2 separate regions of the Homo sapiens genome follow, and region 1 is linked to region 2. The links are contacts of gene promoters, found by promoter capture Hi-C in human tissues and cell types (Jung and others, 2019). All regions are on one chromosome and are shown on one strand. The core of a region is centred on a gene start or on the middle of the fragment in contact, and the rest is flanking DNA. Distances in the headings are between cores, read along the strand shown.

Region 1 (4,841 bases), core at 1,570-4,069, 330 kb after region 2:
GAATATGATAGAGACATGATCACCAGGCTTGGCCAGGACAGTGACGTACATGGTGAAGTCACGTATCCAGTGAATGTTCATTGAGTGCCTGCTTTGAGCTGGACATTCAGCTGGTGCTAACTGGTTATAGAGTAGCCAGCACAATACCTGGCCTCAAGGAGCTAATAGTCTGTTCAGAGAGCCGGACCGTGAACGGAATATTATAGTGAAATTATAATTAGGTAACCCTTTTTCCCCCCTCAAGGTCTAAACAGCTAAAGAAGCCCAAATCCCTGCTTTTATGAAAATAGAAACATCAAGCTGAGATCAGGAATTTTAAAATTAACCAAGTCCTTTTATTTACATGATCCTTAGACCTCATGAGTCAAGTATAATTGTCTTCCTTTCAGATAAGAAAACTGAGGCTTAGAGACATTAAGCAATTTGCTTAAAGTCACCTAATTTTCAGGGGTGTCTTGGGACCAGTACCATTCAGATTATTCTCCTAAACCTACTCCTGTATTTTCCATTTTCCAGAAGGCTTGGTGCTTAGGAAGCCAATTCTGAGGCTTTTTAAGGTCCTGAGTTGCCTTTGAAATGATCAAAGAGACAGTTAGACTCAATATGGTTAAGTTATAAATGCGTTTTCTGAGTTTTGATTCTTTGCAAATTAGCCATCCATGGAGGGCACGTGACATAACGGGAGCAGGTCTTGGCACAAAGGCAGGAACTGCAGCAGGGAGGTGGGTGGGCAGGGAGCGAGGGAGATGAGATGCGGGGCTCCTCTGAGCATGGGGAGTGACCTGAGGCTCTGCTCGGGCTGCAGAGGCCAGGCTGGGGAAGGAGGCCCGGTGGCCTGAGGCATAGTGGTCAAAGGACAGTGCATACTCAGGCAAAGTTAAGACCAGCATCGGCACCAATTGGCATTAGTGAGTGTAATTCAGCCATTGGGAACCAGCCAGGATACTAATCTGTGGCCCCAAGCTCAGCAGCCAGTGCAGCCAGGTGAGCTGTACAGCCCAGTGGGAGGAGAAGCTCACCCTCCTTCAGAGGAGATAGGCACCAAGGCGGGGAGAGACCATCCTAGAAGGAGGAAGAGAGATTGGGACATGGCTCCGGATTATTGAGCAGGCTGTGATGTGGGGGATGAGGACACAAGAAAAGAACCAACATTCACTGATCACCTACTCTGTGCCAAATGATTTTACATGCATCATCTCCAGTTCTTTCAACAGTCCTGTGAGGGGGTATTAGTGTCCCCACTTTACAGGTAAGGTCACAATTTGCCAGCGGTCACAGAGTAATCAGAGGCCATAGCAGAGGCAGAATCTGAGCACAAACCTTCCTGACTCTTTGCCCCCAACACAGGGTGGGCAGGAGTTCCCCAAGGGGCTCCAGGACTCCCAGGATGCACACAGTCCAACTCTGGTTGACTTTGTGCCTAAACTCTTCTTTTTTTTTTTTGAGACAGAGTTGACCTGTCACCCAGGCTGGAGTGCAGTGGCACGATCTTGGCTTACTGCAACCACCGCCTCCTGGAGTCAAGCGATTCTCCTGCCTCAGCCTTTTGAGTAGCTGGGATTACAGGCACCCGCCACCACGCCCAGCTAATTTTTGAATTTTTAGTAAGGTGAGGTATCACCATGTTGGCCAGGCTGGTCTTGAACTCCTGACCTCAAGTGATCTGCCAGCCTTGGCCTCCCAAAGTGCTGGAATTATAAGTGTAAGCCAGTGCGCCTGGCCTGTGCCTGAATTCTGAAGTCCCACCTACCATGGTGTATCCCAGGCCACTGATCTATTGCCCCACCTAGAAAAGGAGACAAGTCTGGACCCAGCCAAGCGGGTGAAACTGACAGAGGAGCTGGCGCAGGGAAAGGAAGAAGGGCTGTAGAGAGTATGTGGCAACTTGCAATTAGGTAGAAGAGTCAGTTACTCAGAATACCACATGCCGCAACCATGCCGAAATGAGTTTACTGTAATTCCAGATAAAAACAAAACTGTCGGAGCAGAGACTTAGAGACTCGAGGCAGGGTTGGCTTATTTTTTTTTCTATGGTTTCGATATAATTCAGCACTTTCACTTTGTGAAGATAGACCTGACCTTTATGTGGTCTGGAGAATGCTGACTCAACATCAGGGTAACCAATGGTGCACTCATGACCCGAAACAAGACTGGTGGTTGTCAGGGTTCTTAAAGCTCCACACTTGGGCTCTCCACGATCTCGGAAAACCGTGCCTTTATCAGAAATGACAGCCCTTGTTCAAACAGAGATCTGGATAGGTGCGCATTAATTTCAAACATTTTTTTAAAAAGATATTTTCCTGACTTTGTAAGAGGTAGAGTAGGATGCTGATTTAGCGTAGGTCTTTTTCCCATTTCCTACAGTAGTACAGATGGTGACTGAAGGGCAGATGAAAAAAGAAAAGGGGAAGGAAGGGAGGAGAAAAGAGGAAGAGGGTATGGGGGAAGAGGGATGGCCGGCAAAGGAGGCCCACTTTTACTTCCTTGGAAATATTTCGTTCATTTTGAAAACTCAAACTCAAGTTTCTCCTGGAAAAGAAAAAGGCTTGGGATCTCCCAATTGCCTATTGGTATGATTTTTATCTAGCTCCACTTTTTGATTCTTTAGGAATCAAACCGTGAACTTAATTTTTCCTCCTATTTGAAAAGCATAGGCAAAAGTCCTGCCCTCTTTTCCAAAACAAAATGCAGCATCCACCCCCGACCCCCACCACACCTCAAAGCCCCAAAGTGACATTTTCAACAGACTTATCATAAATCAAATCTGCTGTGCACACCAGTAAATAGTGCCAGTAAGCCAGGTGAACCAAATCAGATTTTTCAGCCTTGACTTCCAGTGGTGAGAACAAGGATGTGCTGACCTAGGAAAAATGACAAGTCATGGGCGCCCTGCACCGGCCCTTTCAGAAGACGTAGAACACTGCAGGGGGTGGAGTCTGGAATAAGGAGAATCTGGAATCAGTGATGACCTAGTTGTCTTGAGGGCCAGGCTGAGGAGAAGCCTGATGGGTTACGCTTCAGAATTTCATGTGCTCATGGTAGGTCCTCTGCATTTTCCCTGTCAGAGTGGATGTTGAACTCTGGTGAGGATGAAAGGGAAGGTCCCAGAAATGACCTATGCTCTTGCTGGGGAGATCCAACATCTGGCTCAAGCCTTAAGCAACAGCCCCCTTGTCCCAGTCTTGATTTTGGACTCTCCATGAAGGCAACCTATCACAGACAGCCTAGAGAAAGCATACCACAGCTCATAAAATGTTGCTAGCATTCTGCCTATTGTAAAATTATCTGTAGGAGCCAACCTGTGTTCTGGAAAGTTATGGGTATAAGACGACGTGTTATAGGTGATTTTGATTTTCTTAATTTGTTTAACAAGCTTGAATTTGAACCCCAACCATTGGATCAAAAATGTCACATTTCTGGCCAGATGTGTTGGCTCACTCCTATAATCCCAACATTTTGAAAGGCCAAGGTGGGAAGATTGCTAGAGGCCAGGAGTTCAAGACCAGCTTGGGCAACATAACAAGTCCCCGTCTCTATAAAAAAAAAAAAAAAGTCACATTTCTCAATTAACTGTGGGTCTGAGCCTTTGCTTTTAAGGGTTGAAAAATCTTATCACAATTACATTTTAGGGAAACCATTCTCTTTCATAAGGTTATAATAACACGCTCCTTGGGACTTATGTGGTGCTTAAAAAATGAGAGAGGAGGCCCTTTTTTTTTTTTTTTTTGAGACAGAATCTCGCCTGTCGCCCAGGCTGGAGTGCAGTGGTGCAATATCAGCTCACTGCAAGCTCCGCCTCCCAGATTCATGCCATTCTCCTGCCTCAGCCTCCCAAGTAGCTGGTACTACAGGTTCCTGCCACCACTCCTGGCTAATTTTTTGTATTTTTAGTAGAGATGGGGTTTCACCGTGTTAGCCAGGATGGTCTCAATCTCCTGACCTCGTGATCTGCCCACCTCAGCCTCCCAAAGTGCTGGGATTACAGGCGTGAGCCACCGTGTCCGGCTGGCCCCTTCTCCATCACTTGTGGTCATTATCCTTCTTGGTGCCTTTGGGACACCGAAATCCAGGGGATCTCCTTTCCTGGTGGCCTGATTTACTATCTGCAAGCTTTGTCACAGACATTCTTCCAGGGTTTGAGGCTGCAGCTTGCAGAATGTAACCATGATAACACCCCAATGTCTGGGAAGCCCTGTGTAAGTGGGGCAAGGATTTCAAAGAAACTCCAAGCCTCCACCCCGCTTCATAACACTGAGAAATCAGCTTACATGGTTTAGGTCTTTGCCCCTTCCAACTCAAAGCACCAGCTCCTATATCCTTCTGCTCTGGTGCAAATGAGTTGAACCCCTCCTCTTTGGCCCCTTTATTAGCGTGCAAAGACTGCCGTAACAAAATGCCACGAACCAGGTGGCTTAAACAACAGAAATTTATCATCTCCCAGTTCTGGTGTCTGGAAGACCAGATCAAAATGTTGTCAGAGTCCTTCTGCAGGTTGTGAAGGAAAGATTTGTTCTAGGCCTCTCCCTTTGGCCTTGTAGATGCCCATCTTCTCTCTGTGTCTTCCCTCTGTGCATAGCTCTTTTTTATAAGGACACTAGTCATAATGGATTAGGGCTCACTCTAATGACCCCACTTTCACTTGATTGCCTCTGTAAAGACCTCACCTCCAAATAAAGTCATACTGAGGTCCTAGGTGTTAGGACTTGGACATATGCATTTTGGGGGTAAATAATTCAACCCATAACAGGCCCTAAACATAAGATGTGGGGAGGGGAAAGTGAGAGCTCAAACTTTTTTTTTTTTTTTTAATAAACTTTACTTTTTAGAACAGTGATAGATTC
Region 2 (4,616 bases), core at 150-2,649:
GGCCAAGTGGAGGTTCGGCCCAGTACTGTCTGTTTCTTTGTTTGCTTAACTGTCATTGCCATCTTCGCTATTACTTGATTTTTGTGTTTTTGTCATCCCCTTACAGACGTTTCTGAGTTATGACAGCCTCGACAAGAATAGTCTCCTTGTTTCTGAACATTGGTGTTGTGATGCAATCTCCTAATGAGACATGTCAATGTGCCCAGATCTGCAGTGATAGTTGTCTGTTTTCTTAAGACTTTAGTCCACGGTTACTTGAAATTCCCTCAGAGCCACAGCCAGCCCTTTCCCTTGGCTTGTTTCACAAATCTGGTTTTCCAGGGTCACAGATACCTGCTGCTTTCTGGCTGTCTCCTTTTGCCAGTGGAGCAGAGATCCATCCACTCCTTACTGAGCCTCCCCAGGCCTGAGGAGACTTCCTGTTATGTTTGATGAGTAAGGATGAATCACAAGAAGCCAGCCTTTCTCTTCCTCCTGAAAGCAGAAGTGATTCTTACGGAGATGTCCAACTTTGTCATTAGCCAAATTGTAAGGTCTTAACTTGTTGTTGTTTTTTTTTTAATAAAGATGAGATTGTGCCAGACAGTGAGATAAATTATAGAATGATTGTTTCACTCATGCCTTCTGTCCTTTGCAGAACTCAGTTAAGCAAGAAGTCTGGGGAAAAGGGTTTACTGTCCACCAGAAGTCTCTGTTTAACCAGAGACTTCTGGTAATCAGCCTTTGTTGATGTCATTCTGAAATTCTTCTAAATGGTCTTTAGAAAATTGATTTTTAAATTAGTCTTGCAGGATTTCAGTGTTATTTATTATTCCTAAATTAAAATCTAAACCATTTAATAACACCAAATGTTGATCAGAATGTGGGTATGATTGCTCGTACATATGGCTAAATATGTAGTCATAAATATGTATCAACCAGTAAACTTTCCTTAGAAGTTGATTTTTAAAAAAAAACCCAAATTGTGGAACTATACTTATTTTATTTTAAACTATCTCATCCAGCTAAAATAATGCTCAAAATTGCTTGATAAGGGAAACTGCAATTATTCTTGAAATGTTAAATATGGTGATAATAGAAAACAGGCTGTTTAAAATAACTTTCCACTCAGGTGACAAATGTAATAACCAGGCTGCAAACTCTTACAGAGAAATATTACCTTAGAAAAATATTTTTCTTCACATTGAATTGTTTGTAAGTTGCTTCCTCACACGAATTAGAAAATTGGATTACTGGTTTTGTCTGTAGCCCAGAAAAAACTGCTAACTCACCTCCGGACCTTTGAAAGGTAAAAATATACGTAGGAGTAATTCCAGTGTGGGCCAACAGATGGCACCAATCTGTTTCTAAGGTACCGCTTTACTCAACTTTAAGAACTTGTGTTTGTCAAGCATTTTCAATTGTATTTCCGTTCATTTACAAGTTATTTTCTCTTCTTCTGAAAAAGAGATCTTGGTAAGTAGAAAGACTTCTGTGGCTTTTTCACATTATGGCACAGGTGCTTCAAGTAAGCAAGTTTGCTAACCATTCATTATATAGGAAATAGGTAATGTTTCCTTGAAATTTTTGCAAAATGATTTGAAGTGGTTTTTTTTGTAGATGTTGCAAATGTCCTTTGAATTTCACGAGCAGGATGAAGAGCAGCGTCTTTACAGCTGTCTTGAAAAGATAGAAAACAACTAGCGCTTGTGGTGATAATTAAGGAACAAAACTAATGTTATTTATTTCTTCTGATTTGGCCCAGCGAATTTTCTCTTTTCGTCTTTCTCTAGTTTATTGTTTTCAGTAACATTTAACAGTAATTTTTATATACCACTGATATGGCACCTATTTATTATATGTTTTTACAGCAGACGTGTGTTTGATCTCCCTTGTCGTTTGTCACTGTAACAGTTTGCTGGTCTGTGTCTGTCCCTAATTCATAAGCTTTTTGAAAGCAGGAATTATGTCAGTCCTATTCATATTTATATCCCTGGTGCCTAGTGCGTAGCATGGCACTGGCAGAAAAATAGACTCTGAATAAACATTTATTAAATGGAGGAAGTGGCCGGGACCAAGCCCCTTCACAAGCTTGAATCTGGCACAGTGTAGCAATTGCCTTCCTCCAGGTCCTTCCACCTTCAGTTTGACAAATGAAACAATGTTTTTCTTGCCTATTTGTTAACTTGATTATGTGATCTTTCCTCCACTTATTTCACTTAATTTTTTTTCTGCTCTCTTCTTCCTTGTAGTTTTAATTTTCATAGGTCTTGTCTACCCTTTTTTTCTGAAATGTAGCTTATTTCATCTATTTCCTCACCCTTTTTATTTGATGCATTTAAAAAATCAAGAGCATTTACCTGTTTATTTTTACTTTCTTTAAAAAACTGTGAACTCTCTAATCTTCCACTCTCATCTTCCCATTTTTCCCTCCTTTTTTCCCAATAAATAGAAAAGTTACTATCTTGTTCATTTAGTGTATTCCCTAGGAACTGCCTCAGGGTATGAACGCCTCTGGAGGAATATTGCGTTTTTGTGGCAGGATACCATAAGGACAGCTGACCAGCTTTTCCACCTGGTGACTGATTTTCAGTCCCATGAACCCAGACACCGTGGGTCTGGTTGCCGGGGACCTGTAGGGTAGGTCCTCATCTGTGAATGCCAGTTATCTACTATTATCTGAAAGTTCTCCATCTTTATATTTTAATATTCCAAATAAAACAAGCACGTTTCTTTAAATATAAAATATTTTCACACAGCTATAAAGACAACTCTTAAATTGCCTTACGATAACTTTTTTGGATTATAAAGGACATTCAAAATGAGACATTTTAGGGATATCTGAAAGTATAAGAAAGAAAATTAAATTCATCTATAATTCAGAGATTCAGAGAACCACTATTATTAGTATTTGGTATATTTCATCACATTGTTTGTCCTCTAGCTTTTACGTATATGTCAGGTTTTAATCATATTTTGCAAAATTAGAGTCTTACTACATATATAATTTTTTTTTTTTTTTTTTGAGACGGAGTCTTGCTCTGTCGCCCAGGCTGGAGTGCAGCGGCACGATCTCGGCTCACTGCAAGCTCCGCCTCCCGGGTTCACGCCATTCTCCTGCCTCAGCCTCCCGAGTAGCTGGGACTACAGGCGCCCGCCACCACGCCCGGCTAATTTTTTTGTATTTTTTTTTAGTAGAGACGGGGTTTCACCGTTAGCCAGGATGGTCTCGATCTCCTGACCTCGTGATCCACCCGCCTTGGCCTCCCAAAGTGCTGGGATGAGAGGCGTGAGCCACTGCGCCCGGCCATAATTTTCTATTACTGTATTCATTTAACATTATCATTTTTTCAAAGTACAGTATTTGAGGCTATTATTTAATTATACATAACTGATTTAATCATTTTCTACACTAGACATTCTGATTTTTTCAATATTTCATTATGTCATGAGTATCCTTATAGTCATATCTTCTGTGTGTTATTTTTGACTATTTCTTTAGAAAATTCCTTGTAGTGGAATTGCTAAAATAAAGGAAGGTATATTTTTAAGAAATTTATGTAAATTACCAAATTACCCTTTAGAAAGCTTGTACTAATTTTTCATTCCTGCCTAAGTAGTAAATGAGGGTTCTTATTTTAGTTTCCACCTACCAACCTGGATATTATATTTTTTAATTTTCCCTATTTGATAGGTGAAAAAAAAATCTTGCCTTTTAAAAAATCTTTTAAGAAACAAGAGTCCTCCTTTGACCCCCTTCCTCTTTTTATGCTTAAATATCTTATAGTAAAAATAACAGGCATTCTGGAAACCTATTTCTAAAAGCTTTATTCTCTATCTCTAAAAAAATTACATTTTCCTAAAATAGCCAAATAACATTATAAAAAATTACAATTTATTTCTTAATAGCATCTAATGGCTGGTCCATCATAGAATCTGCCCCTCCTTCTGTTACTGAATATGTTTTATAGCAAGTCTGTCTTAACTGAGATCTAATCCAAGATCATGAGTTTCATCTAGATGTTATGTGCTTTTTTGATTTAACGTGCTGTTTTATTTTTTGTGAGATTGCACATTATTCATATTATTGGCAATTGATTTTTGGCAAATTATTCAGTAAATAGTACAGTAAACTTAATTTTGAATGTTAAAAGTTTGAAAAATATAGATAAAAACTAAGAGGAAAATAAAGTTCCATTATAATCTTACTGTGCAAAGATAATTACTGTTCATATCTTGGTATGTATCTTATTAATTTTTCTACTTGCATAGGTACATATTTACTTTGGTACTTTTTAAATAAACTGCTTTTTGTCACATATAGTGAAAATATTTTCATGCAATTCGATTTTTATTATTTTTAAAGGCTACATAGTACTATTTAATTATACAGAGATACTAAAATTTATTTGATAACCTGCTATTTTTGGATAATTGAGGGATTTGTTTTCAAAATAGAATTTATTTTTGCCAGGAGCAGTGGCTTGTACCTGTAACCCCAGCTCCGTGGGAGGCTGAGGTGAGAGGATGGCATGAGCCCAGGACCTTAAGCTATGATTGTGCCACTGCACTCCAGCCTGGGCAGTGGGACAAAACCCTGTCTCTTAAAAAGAAAGTGTTTAAGAAAATAGTAATGA

Evidence for each region. Contacts are between HindIII fragments. The study calls those that stand out against the background at their distance.
Region 1: a fragment that was not itself captured here is called in contact with the fragment with the promoter of TLR6 in region 2 in 1 of the 25 tissues and cell types used here (dorsolateral prefrontal cortex).

What each region holds. Positions count from the first base shown.
Region 1 is chr4:38,521,300-38,526,140 of GRCh38, reverse strand. LINC01258 (long intergenic non-protein coding RNA 1258) reads left to right here and starts at 2,961. Exons shown (of 8, transcript NR_110951.1): 1 at 2,961-3,038. RefSeq lists an enhancer at 1,738-1,787. The HindIII fragment of the contact is 4,596 bases long and covers 522-4,841 here.
Region 2 is chr4:38,853,600-38,858,215 of GRCh38, reverse strand. TLR6 (toll like receptor 6) reads left to right here and starts at 1,399. Exons shown (of 2, transcript NM_006068.5): 1 at 1,399-1,455. RefSeq lists an enhancer at 1-950. The HindIII fragment of the contact is 6,137 bases long and covers 1-2,819 here.